Linked DNA regions of Homo sapiens: region 2 is linked to region 1. Evidence: promoter capture Hi-C in 16 types of primary human blood cells and fetal thymus (Javierre and others, 2016). All regions are on one chromosome and are shown on one strand. The core of a region is centred on a gene start or on the middle of the fragment in contact, and the rest is flanking DNA. Distances in the headings are between cores, read along the strand shown. Region 1 holds the start of SNN (stannin). Region 2 overlaps LOC105371082 (a long non-coding RNA gene).

Region 1 (6,367 bases), core at 1,105-3,604:
TCCCACTCCAGAGGCCACTCCATGTGCTCTAGGCCCGGGGGGCCCACAGACCGCAGTAGAGCAGGCTGGAGTCCCCTCCATCCTCCCAGACCAGCACTCACTTTTGCGGCCTGCTTCCGCCCAGCCAAGCAAGCTGCTCCTCTTGGCCTCAGTTTCTCAATGCGCAAAGCGGATACGAGTCCCTGACCTCATCTACCAGGTCGTGGGGAGGATGAGAAGTGGTAAGAAAAGTGAAAACAAAAGGGACATGAGGTCACCAGGTTTGCATGTCACCAGCCACACCTTCCTGTGTGCTACAGCAGGGACAAAGGGAGAACACTGAGCCCGAGGGATCCCCAAGCCCACCCCCAGGGCCAGAAGGGCACAGAGCCTGGCCCAGGCCCAGTGCCACAAACACCCCTTCCCCAGGGACACGCTGCCTCCTCCTAACTCAACCGGGCACATCATGAGCATTGCCGGGCTCACCACCAGCAAAACACCCCCGCCTTGCAGCCGCCACCTCCTGAGGCTCCTTGACAGACGCCAGGAGGGCTGCCCTGCTTACAGGGGACCAGCCATCCCTACGGGGCTTTCAGTACTGCCTCCCCCCATAAAGCCACCTGCCAAGGGTGCCAACAAACTCTTCAGCGAACCCCGGGTCACAAACCAGAAACGTTTCCTGCCCCAGGTTCTGACTGGGAAAACAGGGTTGTAGGGAGAAGAGGGCACTGCTGGACACAGCCAGGACGAGGCGGGACGTCCGTTCTGCCCTGGGCCTCCAGCAGCCAGTGGGACACAAGGACGCATCACACAAGGCCCCAGCCCTCCAGAAGCCAGGACCAAGAACGGCCGGATGCCAGTGGGACTGACACTGATGGGGCTGTGCCCAGCTCTCTGGCCAGTGTTATCTCATCCTCCACCCCCACCCATGACACCCCCATCCTCAGAAGAGGAAACTCGCTCCAGAATCCCCTAGGTTCCCCAGTGGCAAAAGAGGAAGCGGGAGCCCGCAGAGCTCTGAACCGGGACTGCCCCAAGGTCAGTCGGGGTCTTCCTCGGGCCAGGCCAGAGGCTCATGCCCCCACCCTGTGAATCACCCGCTGGTCATTTTCACAGGCTGCCCCAGGGTTGGCCTGTTTGGCCAAACAACTTTGCTTGTAGATGCCGGAGAAAGTTGGTGGCAATTATATGTGCCAGACACTGAGATAAACAGCTCACGCAGATGTCTCCTTTCTGCCTCAAGACAACAGGGCAGTTGAGCTATTACTGTTCCCTCTTGGCAGATACAGAAATTGGTGGCTCAGAGAAGTTAAGTCCATTGCCCAAGGTCACACAGCTCAAAAGTAGACGCGCAGGGATTCAAACCCAGGCAACCTGCATCCAAAATCCCGCATTTCGACCCTGACTCTAAAATGCCACATTCTCCCTACCTCCTCTCCCGCGTGCCTGAGGGGCCGCGGACAGGTGAACCCCAGTGTGGCCCTCGCTGGGGCGGGCTGGGCGACCTGGGCTGGGTGCTGGGGACTTAGGGGTGACAGCGCCCCGGCGGCTCCCGAGTGCTGAGCGCGGGCGGCGTGGCAGGCGCGGTGCCAGGCGCGCTCCGCGCACCCTCCCGTTCCACCCTGCCCGGCGGCGCCGGCGTCTCCCCCACTCCACGGAGGAGCAAAGCGAGGCTCCAGGGAGGAGGGGGCTCGGCCCAGGGGGCGACAGCTGGAGAGGGGACGGCAGCTGGGGAGGTAGCTCGAATCGGCCCGACGGAGGCGGGGTGTGGGACGGGGACCAGGGGAGCTAGGCATGCCCACGCCGCGCAGCCGCTGCCCACGGAACCGGGCGCCGAACGCTGCGGCCCGGCCTCAGTTTCCCTACCCGCGAGACGGGCGCCGGACGTCACCTGGACCCCTATCCCCGGAGCCCTCCCCGGAGCTCCCAGAATTTTGAAGAACCCCGAAATGCCGGGGGAAGGCGGGAGCGTAGCTGAGGACGGGCGGGGGCTGCACGGGCGGGGGCGAGCGCCCCGCGATCCCCACAAAGCGGCCTCCGCCCCCCGCCGCCTCCTTTGTCCGGATCTCGCCGCAGCGCCGCTGACAAAGAACCCCAGCCCGCGGGCGCGGCCCCTGGAACGGACCCTCCCCCGAGCCGCGCCCGCCGGGCCGCCCCTCCCCCGCCCGCAGACCCCGGCCCGGCCCCGCCGCCGCGCGCGCCCCTCCTCGTCCTGGCCTCCCCCTTCCCGCCCCCGGGCCCCGGCGCCCCCGCCCGGCCCGAGCGCGCGGCCTGCCCCGCCCGGCTCACCATGGCGCGGCAGCGGCCCGGCCCGATCGCCCCGCAGCAGCCCCGCGGGCCCGGCTCCGCCCGCCCGGTCCGGCCGCCGCGCACTCGGGACGCAGGAGCCCCGCGCTGCGGCGGGCGGGGCCCGGCTCCTCCCCGGCTGGGGACGGGGCCTCCCAGAAAGGCCAATGGGAGCCCGCGCTGGGACGGCGGGGCGGGGCGGGCCGGGGCGGAGTCACGTGTGCTCGGGGCCGGCAGGCGGTGGGGCGGGGGCTGCGCGCGGCGGGCGGGCTCGGCCCTGGCGAGCGCGGATTGGGCGCCCGTGGGTACGGGGCCCCACTACAGGCGCCCTTCCTCTGCCAGCCTCATCCTGACCCCGGCAGGCTGCCTTGGTCCCGCCTGCTTACAGCGGAGGAAACTGAGGCACGCTGCACGGAAGAGTGCTGCATACTCCTCGAGAGCTGAGAGCGGCGGGGAATCCGGGGCAGGGGCAGGGGAGAGGCGCGACCGCTGAGGTGAATGACCTTGCTTCGGGAGGAAGCTGGGCATCAGTCGTTCGCGAATTCATTTATGTATCATTCATCCGCCCAGTCAGTCGATGGCGGAACACTGACCACGTGCCTGCCACGCCAGTCGTCGTGGGAGCAGCCACGAGCCAGACAAGGTCCCGGCCCTGACGAAGCTCTCATTCCTCTGCGGGATGAGGCTGTGAGGCATTTGCACCCCTCTGCCACCTATAATCATAGTTATTTTTAGCATAATTACCCGGTGGTTTGGCCCCCACCAAATGCCTGCCCTGTATAAACAGCCCAACACATTTTATTAAGATGACTCCGGAAGAAAGAATCTTCCCATTTTACAGATGAGGAACCTGAGGCTCCAAAGAGCTGAAGTCCCACAGCCTGCTCCTGATGGAGAGAGGGTTTTGAGGCCAGGCCTGTCTACCTGGGAAGACAGAGGCTCCAGTTATTGGAGTAATCTCCACTCATCCACCCCAAGAAGGCCATCGGCGAGAGGACACCCCAGCCCTGGGGCCCACAGAAGGGGTGAGGGTGGGTCCCTCAAGGCTTCTGTGGCCCAGGGGACTTGAGAAGACAGGAGGGGGCAGGGCGAGCTGGGACCTCCTCCTGGGAACGGGGGCCTTATTTGCTGGAAACTTCTTTCCCATTCTCAAGCAGAAGCCTCTGGAAGAGCATGGCGGGTTGGGCTCACGAGGCTGAGGTGGCCAGGCCCTCACTCCCTCCACTCAGCCTCGCTGGGCTTTCTTCCCTGCGCCCAGTGCACCAAGCCTTTCCCACCGCCAGGCCTTTGCCTATGTGGCTCCCTGCAGCTGGAACTCTTCTACTTCATCTTCCCGATCTCAGCTTAAGTGCCCCTTCCTCAGGAGGGCCCTCCCTGATCGCCCAGCCAAGAGTAGCTCCCTTGGGGTTTTTTGTTTTGTTTTTGAGACGGGGTCTTGGTCTGTCACTCAGGCTGGAGTACAGTGGTGCAATCACAGCTCACTACAGCCTCCATCCAACTCCTTCCTGGGCTCAAGCCATCGTCCCACTCAGCCTATATCTATGAATGTGGGCAGATTTGACGAAGCAATTTTTTTTCTTTTTTTTAGAGAGAAGGTCTTGCTCTGTCGCCCAGGCTGGAGTACAGTGGTGCAATCATAGGTCACTGTAACCTGGGCTCAAGCGATCCTCCTACCTCAGCCTCCCAGGTAGCTGAGACTACAGGTGCATGCCACCATGCCCGGCTAATTTTTTAATTTTTTGTAGAGATAGGGTCTCTTGTTGTTGCCTGAGCTGGTCTCAAACTCCTGGGTGATCCTCCTGCCCCGGCCTCCCAAAGTGCTGGGATTATAGGCTTGAGCCACCATGCCCAGCCTACCCATTGTGAAATTGTACATTTTTGACATTGTGTGATGAACTTTTGGTCTTCTCTCCCAGGACTAGGTGTATTGCACTCACTGCTGTGTCTACAGAACAGTGCCTGCCACACAGTGGGTGCTGAATACATGGATGTTGAATGAATGAATGATCGGACTGCAGAACTCCAGGGCGGGTTCAGCGGCAGCCTAGTCAGGAAGCCAGGCACAGGAGGTGAGCTGGGAGTTGCGCAGGAAGGGAGGACAGAAAGGCAGAGGAGAGCCCAGCTTCAGCCAGCTGCCCCACAGGCCAAAGCCGGGCATCTCAGAACAGCTCCGCCCCCACATCTGCCCAAATCCTGCCCCATCAGCCACACCTAGGAGCCCAGAATGGAAGGAAATAGGTTCTTCCCACAAAGCCAGTTCCAGCAGCCTTTGTGGTCCCCGCCTCAAGTTGGCAGAGACTTCATTAGTGGTGAGGACCTGGGAGGGGCAGGCTAAGAACCCCAGAGCCAGGACTGGCAACACGATGACAGGGGAGGCAGGGACACTTAGAGGGGAAAGATTCTTGGGGGAAAATGGTGAGGGAGATTCAGCATGGCATAGAAGCTGGGAGTCAGATTGCCAGATTCCAGGCTTTCCTGCTGGGTGGTTTTGGAAAAACAGCCGAACGTTTCTGTGCCTCAGTTTTTTCGTCTGAGAAATGGAGATGAGGCCGGGTGCGGTGGCTCACACCTGTAATCTCAGCACTTTGGGGAATGCCAAGGCAGGGGGATGGCTTGAGCTCAGGAGTTTGAGAACAGCCCTGGAAATGTAGTGAGACTCCTATCTCTAAAAAAGAAAAGTTAGCTGGCCGTGGCGTTGTGCGCCTGTACTCCCGGGTACTGGGGAGGCTGAAGTAGGAGGATTGCTTGAGCCTGGGAGGTTGAGGCTGCAGTGAGCTGTGATCACACCGTTGCACTCCAGCTTGGGTGACAGTGAGCCCTGTCTCAAAATAAATAAAATAAAATAAAATATACAGCTTCTGACCCACTAGGTCTGAGCCCCAAATCCTGCATTTTTCAAAAGTTCCCGAGTGGTGCTGATGATTCAGGGACAGACTTTGAGCAGCAAGGGCGAGTTCACTTGCTGAAAGTCACAAGGTAGTGGGCTCCAAGCCTGCACTGGAGCCCATGAGATGGGCTACAGGATCCTGCGCTTAACTGCGACCCTAACTGCTTGCTGCAGCCCCACCTTTCTCTCCCCAACAAAGAGGAGGCAGGAAGTATCGCGCCCCTCCCCCAAGCCCATTTCCTCTACCTCCCTCCGTAGTGACATCTGGCCTCACGTCCCCGGGGTTCGTCCTTACAGAATGGGATGGAGGTTCTCAGATGCTCATTAGCCAGGAGGATAATTGAGGGCTTGGGATGAGCTCACCCCAGCTCCCTGGGGCTTGCTGGGGTCCAGCTGGTGTGCCCTGTACCAGCCTGGCCCTCTGCCCACTCCCCCAGCCGCTATAAGGGCTGGGACAAGGAAGGGGGTTGCTCGGCGGGGTGGAGAGGCCTCAGCCTCAAGGGAGACTCTACAGCTGGGACTCCCTGCTCGGGTGGGCGGGCCTCTGCTCCTGGGGCATCTCTATAAGGGATCCAGGCCTGAGAACAAAATGAAAACTGCGTGGCCAGAGGGGATTTTTCCTGAAGGGTGAGATGTGAACCACTGGTGAGGTCTGCAGGGTGAGGTTAGGTGGAAGGCAGAGAGGGCATCACTCACCTCTGAAACCCATAGCAGCTCCCCATTCTAGGGGCAAGGCCTCCTTTGCTGCTAGTGTGGCCTGAGCATCTCTGTAAGGCTGGCTCAGCCCCCTTATGTCCAGGAGAGAGCACAGACCTCAGGCTCAGAATCCCGGGCAGTTGACACTCTGCAGCTAGAACTGAATGATGTGTGGGTTTCTGTGTGTGTATGTTTTAGTTACCTTCTGTGTATGATGTGGGTATTGTGTTTCTGTGTATGGTAATGACATACCCATTGCTTTTTATTTCTTATTTTCTTTGTTTTTGAGGCAGGGTCTTGATTTTTTCACTCAGGCTGGAGTCCAGTGGCACAATCACTGCTTACTGCAGCCTTGACCTCCCCGGATTCTCCCACCTCAGCCTCCTAAGTAGCTAGGACCACAGGTTTGTGTGACCCCACTCAGCTTTTTGTTTTGTTTTGTTTTTGTTTGAGACAGGATCTCACTCTGTCACCCAGGCTGGAATGCAATGGCGTGATCTTGGCTCACTGCAACCTCTG
Region 2 (6,013 bases), core at 181-2,680, 310 kb after region 1:
ATTGGGATGGGGAGATTAGCTTCGATACCCAGGTGAGCCCAATCTAACCGCACAAGTTCTTAAAAGCACAGGACTTCCTCGGGCTTAAAACAGGAACGATAAGGAGGAATGGGAGGTCCAAGAAGATACCATGCACACAGGGGGCAGCCACGTGTCTCCTTCACCTCGTGTATCCAGAGTCTGGAACCCAGCAGGTGCTTGGCGACAGAAAGGCCACTAAAGTGAACTTTGAAGCACCAGATTCCAGTTAACAGTCATGCAGACGAATTATTTAACCTCTCTGACCCCACGTCATCCCTTCTCTATGGATATCAGAAGGGCAGTGAAAATAACCCACCCAAGGTCATCCACTGAATGAACAGTGGGGCTGGCCCCACTGCAAGCCCCTCAGAACCCATCTGGTTGCCAAATCCAGCACTCTCCCCACCCCCACCTGGGCTTGGCCATAATGGGCAGAACTCCTGGGTAGACAGGGGTGAAGTTTCTCATGGCCCCATTTTGTTCCTTTGCTCCATTCTGTGCCCTTGTTTTCTGGTGACGGGTTGTCATCCCATTTTCTGTGCATAGACCAGCAGGGGGGGCCAGCGCCCGTGTAGAGACCATCAGCTCCCAGAGCTGCCCTGGGGAAGAGCTGCCCTAGGGAAGGGCCTGGTCCTGGCCACCCACAACAACAGTGCCCTTAACGACAAGGGGCACCTATTGGTTCACCACCTGGCTCTTCGGCTGCCAGGTAGATGCCCCTGGAAAAAGGACTTCATCTCCGTGGCTGCGGTTTTCACAGCTGTGAAAGGGGATGGGAAACAGACCTCCCAGGCGTACTGGGACAGTAAAATGAAGCGACTCATGAGACGGCTTCCAGCACAGGCCCTGGCACTTAACTCTTAGCTGAATTTGCATTCTTTTATTTTTATTTTATTTTATTTTATTGAGACAGAGTTTTTCTCTGTCACCCAGCCTGGAGTGCAGTGGCGCGATCTCTACTCACTGCAACCTCCATCTCCCAGGTTCAAGCGATTCTCCTGCCTCGGCCTCCCAAGTAGCTGGGACCACAGACACACATCACCACACCCGGCTAATTTTTTGTATTTTTAGTAGAGATGGGGTTTCACCATGTTGGCCAGGCTGGTCTTGAACTCCTGACCCCAGGTGATCTGCCCGCCTCAACCTCCCAAAGTGCTGGGATTTCAGGCATGAACCAACACGCCCAGCTGAACTTGCTTTCTTTATCAAGAGACGTTCAGTCAATCTCAAAGGACTCTCATTTCAGATTCTGCCCAAACCACATGAATCGTTTTTTGGACTCGGCTGTCTCGCTCCTTTTCCTCCACCCTTTTATGTCTTTACCAAATCTTTCCTCTGTGCTTAAAGAGCACTCCCCAACAGTCTAGCCAGCACCCTCAGGCCTGCTATAAACTACACAGGGGGCCCAATTCAAAAGGCGCTACTAAGCAGGGGGCTCCTTTCTTCTGAAAACTGCTGCGGGCCAAGTGTAAATTTAAGACACTGTGCCTTTGCTTGTATATTTCCTCTGTCTTCTAGCCTAAAACCCAGCCAGTCCTAACATTGACCGACTGCCCATGTATGTTACCTAAGACCCCATGCTGGGCAGGGATACTGAGATAAGTAGGACACAATCACGACGTCACTGGAAGCGCCTCCAACAGGGACAGAGATAGCAACAGATGATTTCAGAACAACGTATGTGCCTGTCTACAAAGATCCACTCTCAGGAGTGGATCTTGGGATTCCATTCCCAAGAACTTACCCGGTACCACCCTTTGAAGGATGAATTGTCTCGGCTTCACAGACTTCCAAGGCCAAAGTCAGACAGGAACGGGCAGGACCAGGACTGGGCCCCACGTTTGACTAACATCACTGTCTCCCTTATCACAAGGAGGAAGAGGCCCTTTGAAGATGTCCTTTCGCACGGGCTCCGAAATATCTGCTAAATGTAGGTCATTATGACTGAAAATGCATTTTTCCCCTTGTCCTTGAAGCAGGCAGCTGCTCTGTAAGTTTCGGCTGTAGCCTGATGTTTAGCAACAGCAGCCCTAGCCCATCTGCTGGCCAGCAGATCGCAGGGTTGTCACCCTTGGAACTGGAAGGCATTCTACACACACTGTGTCTTCCAGGTGCTTTTTCTCCTCAACCATGAAACCACACACCCACAGGCCAGGCAACAAAGCGCTCAGTTACTTCACATGGTCATTCCTTCCTCCTCCTGCTTCACCTGATGCAGAAGACTTTGTCAGTAAAACTTGAGCATTACAAGAATATGCAACAGAAAGAATTAGAGAACTTGGCAATCCAAAAGCTGCTAAATGAGGGTTTTCTCCATTTGGGGGGTAATGTAAAGCAGTTCCAAGAAAAGTGAAGTCACAGCCACGGTTGCTTATTTTCGGTTTTAGAAAAAAGCCAATGTCAAAGGGGAAGCAGCTCTGCCCCAGCACAGCCTCCACTGTCTGGCGGGGGGCGCTTGCTGATAAGCCATCTTGGATTTGGCACCAGAAACCCAAAACCTCTGACATATGTTTTCATCTGGTGATGTCAGGGAGGAAACTCAAGCCGAAACAGTGAAAGTTGTTAACATTCAAAGAAACCACACAGCTCAGCTAACATGGTGAGGCAACACCCTTCCAGCACCAAGCCACCAGCATTTCTGAGGGGACTGTCAGGAAAAACACACAGTGCCCTCCTTTTCCTACCTCCACCCCGCCAACAGACTCCTGAGATGCATTATTGCTCAGGCCACCATGTCAGCCCAACTAGCATTTTTCAATGGACACTACTTACCAGAAGTTGGGTGAGGACAAATGGGGCAGGATACGGTACAGGTGGTTTTCGGCAGCTTGGGTCTTTTTTCTAGCACACAAGCAGGTTTCGCCACAGTAGGGCAGACTTCAGGTTAACATCTGGGGAGTCTACCACACATCCAGCTCAGGGGCTACTACTGGGTGCCCCATAATAATTTTGTGAACAAGGTTTGCTTTTTTTGTTTTTTGTTTTTGAGACAGAGTCTGGCTCTGTCGTCCAGAATGGAGTGCAGTGGCATGATCTTGGCTCACTGAAACCTCCGCCTCCCAGGTTCCAGAGATTCTCATGCTTCGGCCTCCAGAGTAGCTGGGATTACAGGTGCGTGCCACCATGCCTGGCTAATTTTTTTGTGTTTTTAGTAGAGACGGGGGACTATGTTGCCCAAGCTGGTCTTGAACACCTGGCCTCCAGTGATCAGCCTGCCTCGACCTCTCAAAGTGTTTCAATTACAGGCGTGAGCCACTGCACCCAGCCATTGTGACTAAGTTTTAACCTAAGAATTCTGTAACAGATCTCACTGTCTGCACCAAAATTAAATTTAAATGCAATTAAAAGCAACTGATTGAACGACCCAGCCAGGGAGAGCACCTAGGGAGACATGATGACGAAATGGAATGTGGTGTCCCGGATGGGACCCTGGAACAGGAAAGAACATTAGGAAAAACCCAGAGAAATCTGAATGAAGTACAGACTTGGGTTAATAACATCTCAATATTGGTTCATGAATTTTAACAAATGCACTATACTAACATGTTAATAATAGGGGAAGCTGGGTACAGGTATATGGGAACTCTTTGTACTATCTTTGCAATTTCTCTCTCTCTCTCTCTCGTGTGTGTGTGTGTGTATGTGTGTGTGTAGACAAGCAAGAACATACTGATCCTCCCAGCAATAATGATTTGGTGCCTACCAAGTGTCACATACCATGTAAAAGTGATCTACATCTTCATTTATTCCTCACACCAGTGCTATGAGCTGGGCATAATCTGCATTTTACAGATAAAGAAACTGAACAATGGAGAGGTTACGTACCTTGCTCATAGTCACACGGCAAGGTTACTTGCAAATGAAGGGCTCAAATTCAGGTTGACAGGACTGCAAAGTTCCTGTTAAAGCTCAGCAATATTGCCCGAAAAATCCCAAACTGTGAACATAAAACAGTTCAAAACAAGCTTCTTGTGGGCAACAAAAATGATGCATACTTTCCAATCTGCCCGGCTTTAAAAAGAAAATAGTTTAAAAGCACAGCACACCCGAGACACTGACAACACTCAGTGCTGGAGACGATGTGGAACAGTGACTCCCCTTCATTGCTGGTGAGAATGCAAAAGCAGACTGGCAGTTTCTACAAGGCTAACCATAGGTCTACCATATGGCCCAGCAATTGCACTCCTAGGCATTTACCCCAATGAGCTGAAAACTTACACCCACTCAAAACCTGGGCATGAATGTTTACAGCAGCTCTATTCATAGTTATCAGAGACTGGAGTCAAGATGTCCTTCAATAGGTGGATTAGATAAAACTATGGTACATCCATACAATGGAACATTATTCAGTGATAAAAAGAAATGAGCTGGCTGGGCGTGGTGGCTCATACCTGTAATCCCAGCACTTTGGGAGGCCAAGGTGGGAGGATTGCTTGAGCCGAGGAATTTGTGCCTGTAGTACCAGCTACTCAGGAGGATGACATGGGAGGATTGCTTGAGTTTGGGAGGTTGAGGCTGCAGTAAGCCACGTTCACGCCACTGTACGCCAGCCTGGGTGACAGGGCAAGGCCCCATCTTAAACAAACAAACAAAAATAAAAAACTCAAAATAAATAAATAAATAAATTAGCTGGGTGTGGTGGCACACATCTGTAATCCCAGCTACTCAGGAGGCTGAGGCGGGAGAATCGCTTGAACCCGGGAGGCAGAGGTTGCAGTGAGCAGAGATCACACCACTGCACTCCAGCCTGGGTGACAGGGTTAGACTCTGTCTCAAAAAAAAAAAAAAAAAAAAAAACAGTACCTAAGGAATTCTTCATGTTTCTATCTTGTAATAAGCACGGGCATTTATTGAAAAAAAAAAAAAAAAAAAAAAGCTAACAAGCTGCAAAAAGACCTGGAGGAGTCCAGACACAATGGCTCACACCTGTAATCCCAGCACTTTGGGAGGCCAAGATGGGAAGATTGCTTGAGCCCAGGAGTTTGAGACCAGCCTGGGCAACATGGCAAAACCTTGTCTCTACAAAAAATACAAAAAAATTAACCAGGCAAGGTGATGCGCACCTGTAGTCCTGCTACCTGAGAGGCTGAGATGGGAGGATCCTGAGCCTGAGAGGTTGAGGCTGTGGTGAGCTGTGATTGTGCCCTTGCACTCCAGCCTGGGCAAGACTGAGATTGTCTTAAAAAAGAAAAAAAAAAAAAGATATGGAGGAATCTTATATGCATAGTAAATGAAAGAAGCCAGTCTGAAAAAATTACTTACTGTATGATCCAACTATATGATATTCTGGAAAAGGCAAAACTGAAAAGAAAGATCAGTGACTGTCAGGGTTGGTGGGGAGGGGTGAATAAGGGGAACCCAGAGGATTTTTAGGGCAGTGAAGCTATTCTGGACGATACTGTAGTGGTGGATACATGTTATTATGCATTTGGCAAAATCCACAGAATGTATAAGAGAAGGAATAAAGCCTAATGTAAACTAAACTTTAGTTAATAAGAATGTAATGTTGGTTTATCAAATGTACCATCCTAATAAAAGATGTTCATAGCTGGAAAAACTGGGAGTGGGGTGTGTGGAGTATATGCGAACGCTGTAGTTTCTCCTCTATTTTCCTGAACACCTAAAACTGTTTTCTTAAGTCCATTAAAAAAAAAAACTCATACAGCCTATTAAAAATTTATTAGAGGTAGAATATCAATAATCCAGGTGAAAGTCTACAACCATGTCAGAACACAATCTAACTCCTTTGATATTTACAATCTCAAAAAATTCAGGCATGGGTACTAAGCAGACAGCAGAAACCCAACATTCAAAACCATCACAGCAAAAAGTCATTCCATACAAAGACAAAAGAACTCTACACCAGGAGGCTCACCATGTCTCGCCGAAAGTTATGAAGTGGAAGTTTAGCTAATGCCTGAAAGGCGTCCTTTATCTTGATGTTTTTCATTTCAACAAGAAATTCTGAAAACGTCTCAACATCTCTGAGTAA

What was found. The method cuts DNA at HindIII sites, captures the fragments that hold promoters and counts their contacts. A CHiCAGO score of 5 or more calls a contact.
Region 2: a fragment that was not itself captured here is called in contact with the fragment with the promoter of SNN in region 1 in 1 of 17 cell types (non-activated CD4 T cells); the score reaches 5.3 in non-activated CD4 T cells.

The regions. Positions count from the first base shown.
Region 1 is chr16:11,664,442-11,670,808 of GRCh38, reverse strand. SNN (stannin) reads right to left here and starts at 2,354. Exons shown (of 2, transcript NM_003498.6): 1 at 2,269-2,354. RefSeq lists an enhancer at 1,055-1,154 and a silencer at 2,262-2,681. The HindIII fragment of the contact is 10,329 bases long and covers 1-6,367 here.
Region 2 is chr16:11,351,433-11,357,445 of GRCh38, reverse strand. All of the region lies in intron 1 of LOC105371082 (a long non-coding RNA gene), which reads right to left. RMI2 (RecQ mediated genome instability 2) reads right to left here. Exons shown (of 2, transcript NM_152308.3): 2 at 5,686-6,013. Among named protein-coding and RNA genes, the nearest start is that of RMI2, 9.0 kb to the right of the region's middle. RefSeq lists enhancers at 2,016-2,165, 2,343-3,195. The HindIII fragment of the contact is 5,116 bases long and covers 1-3,988 here.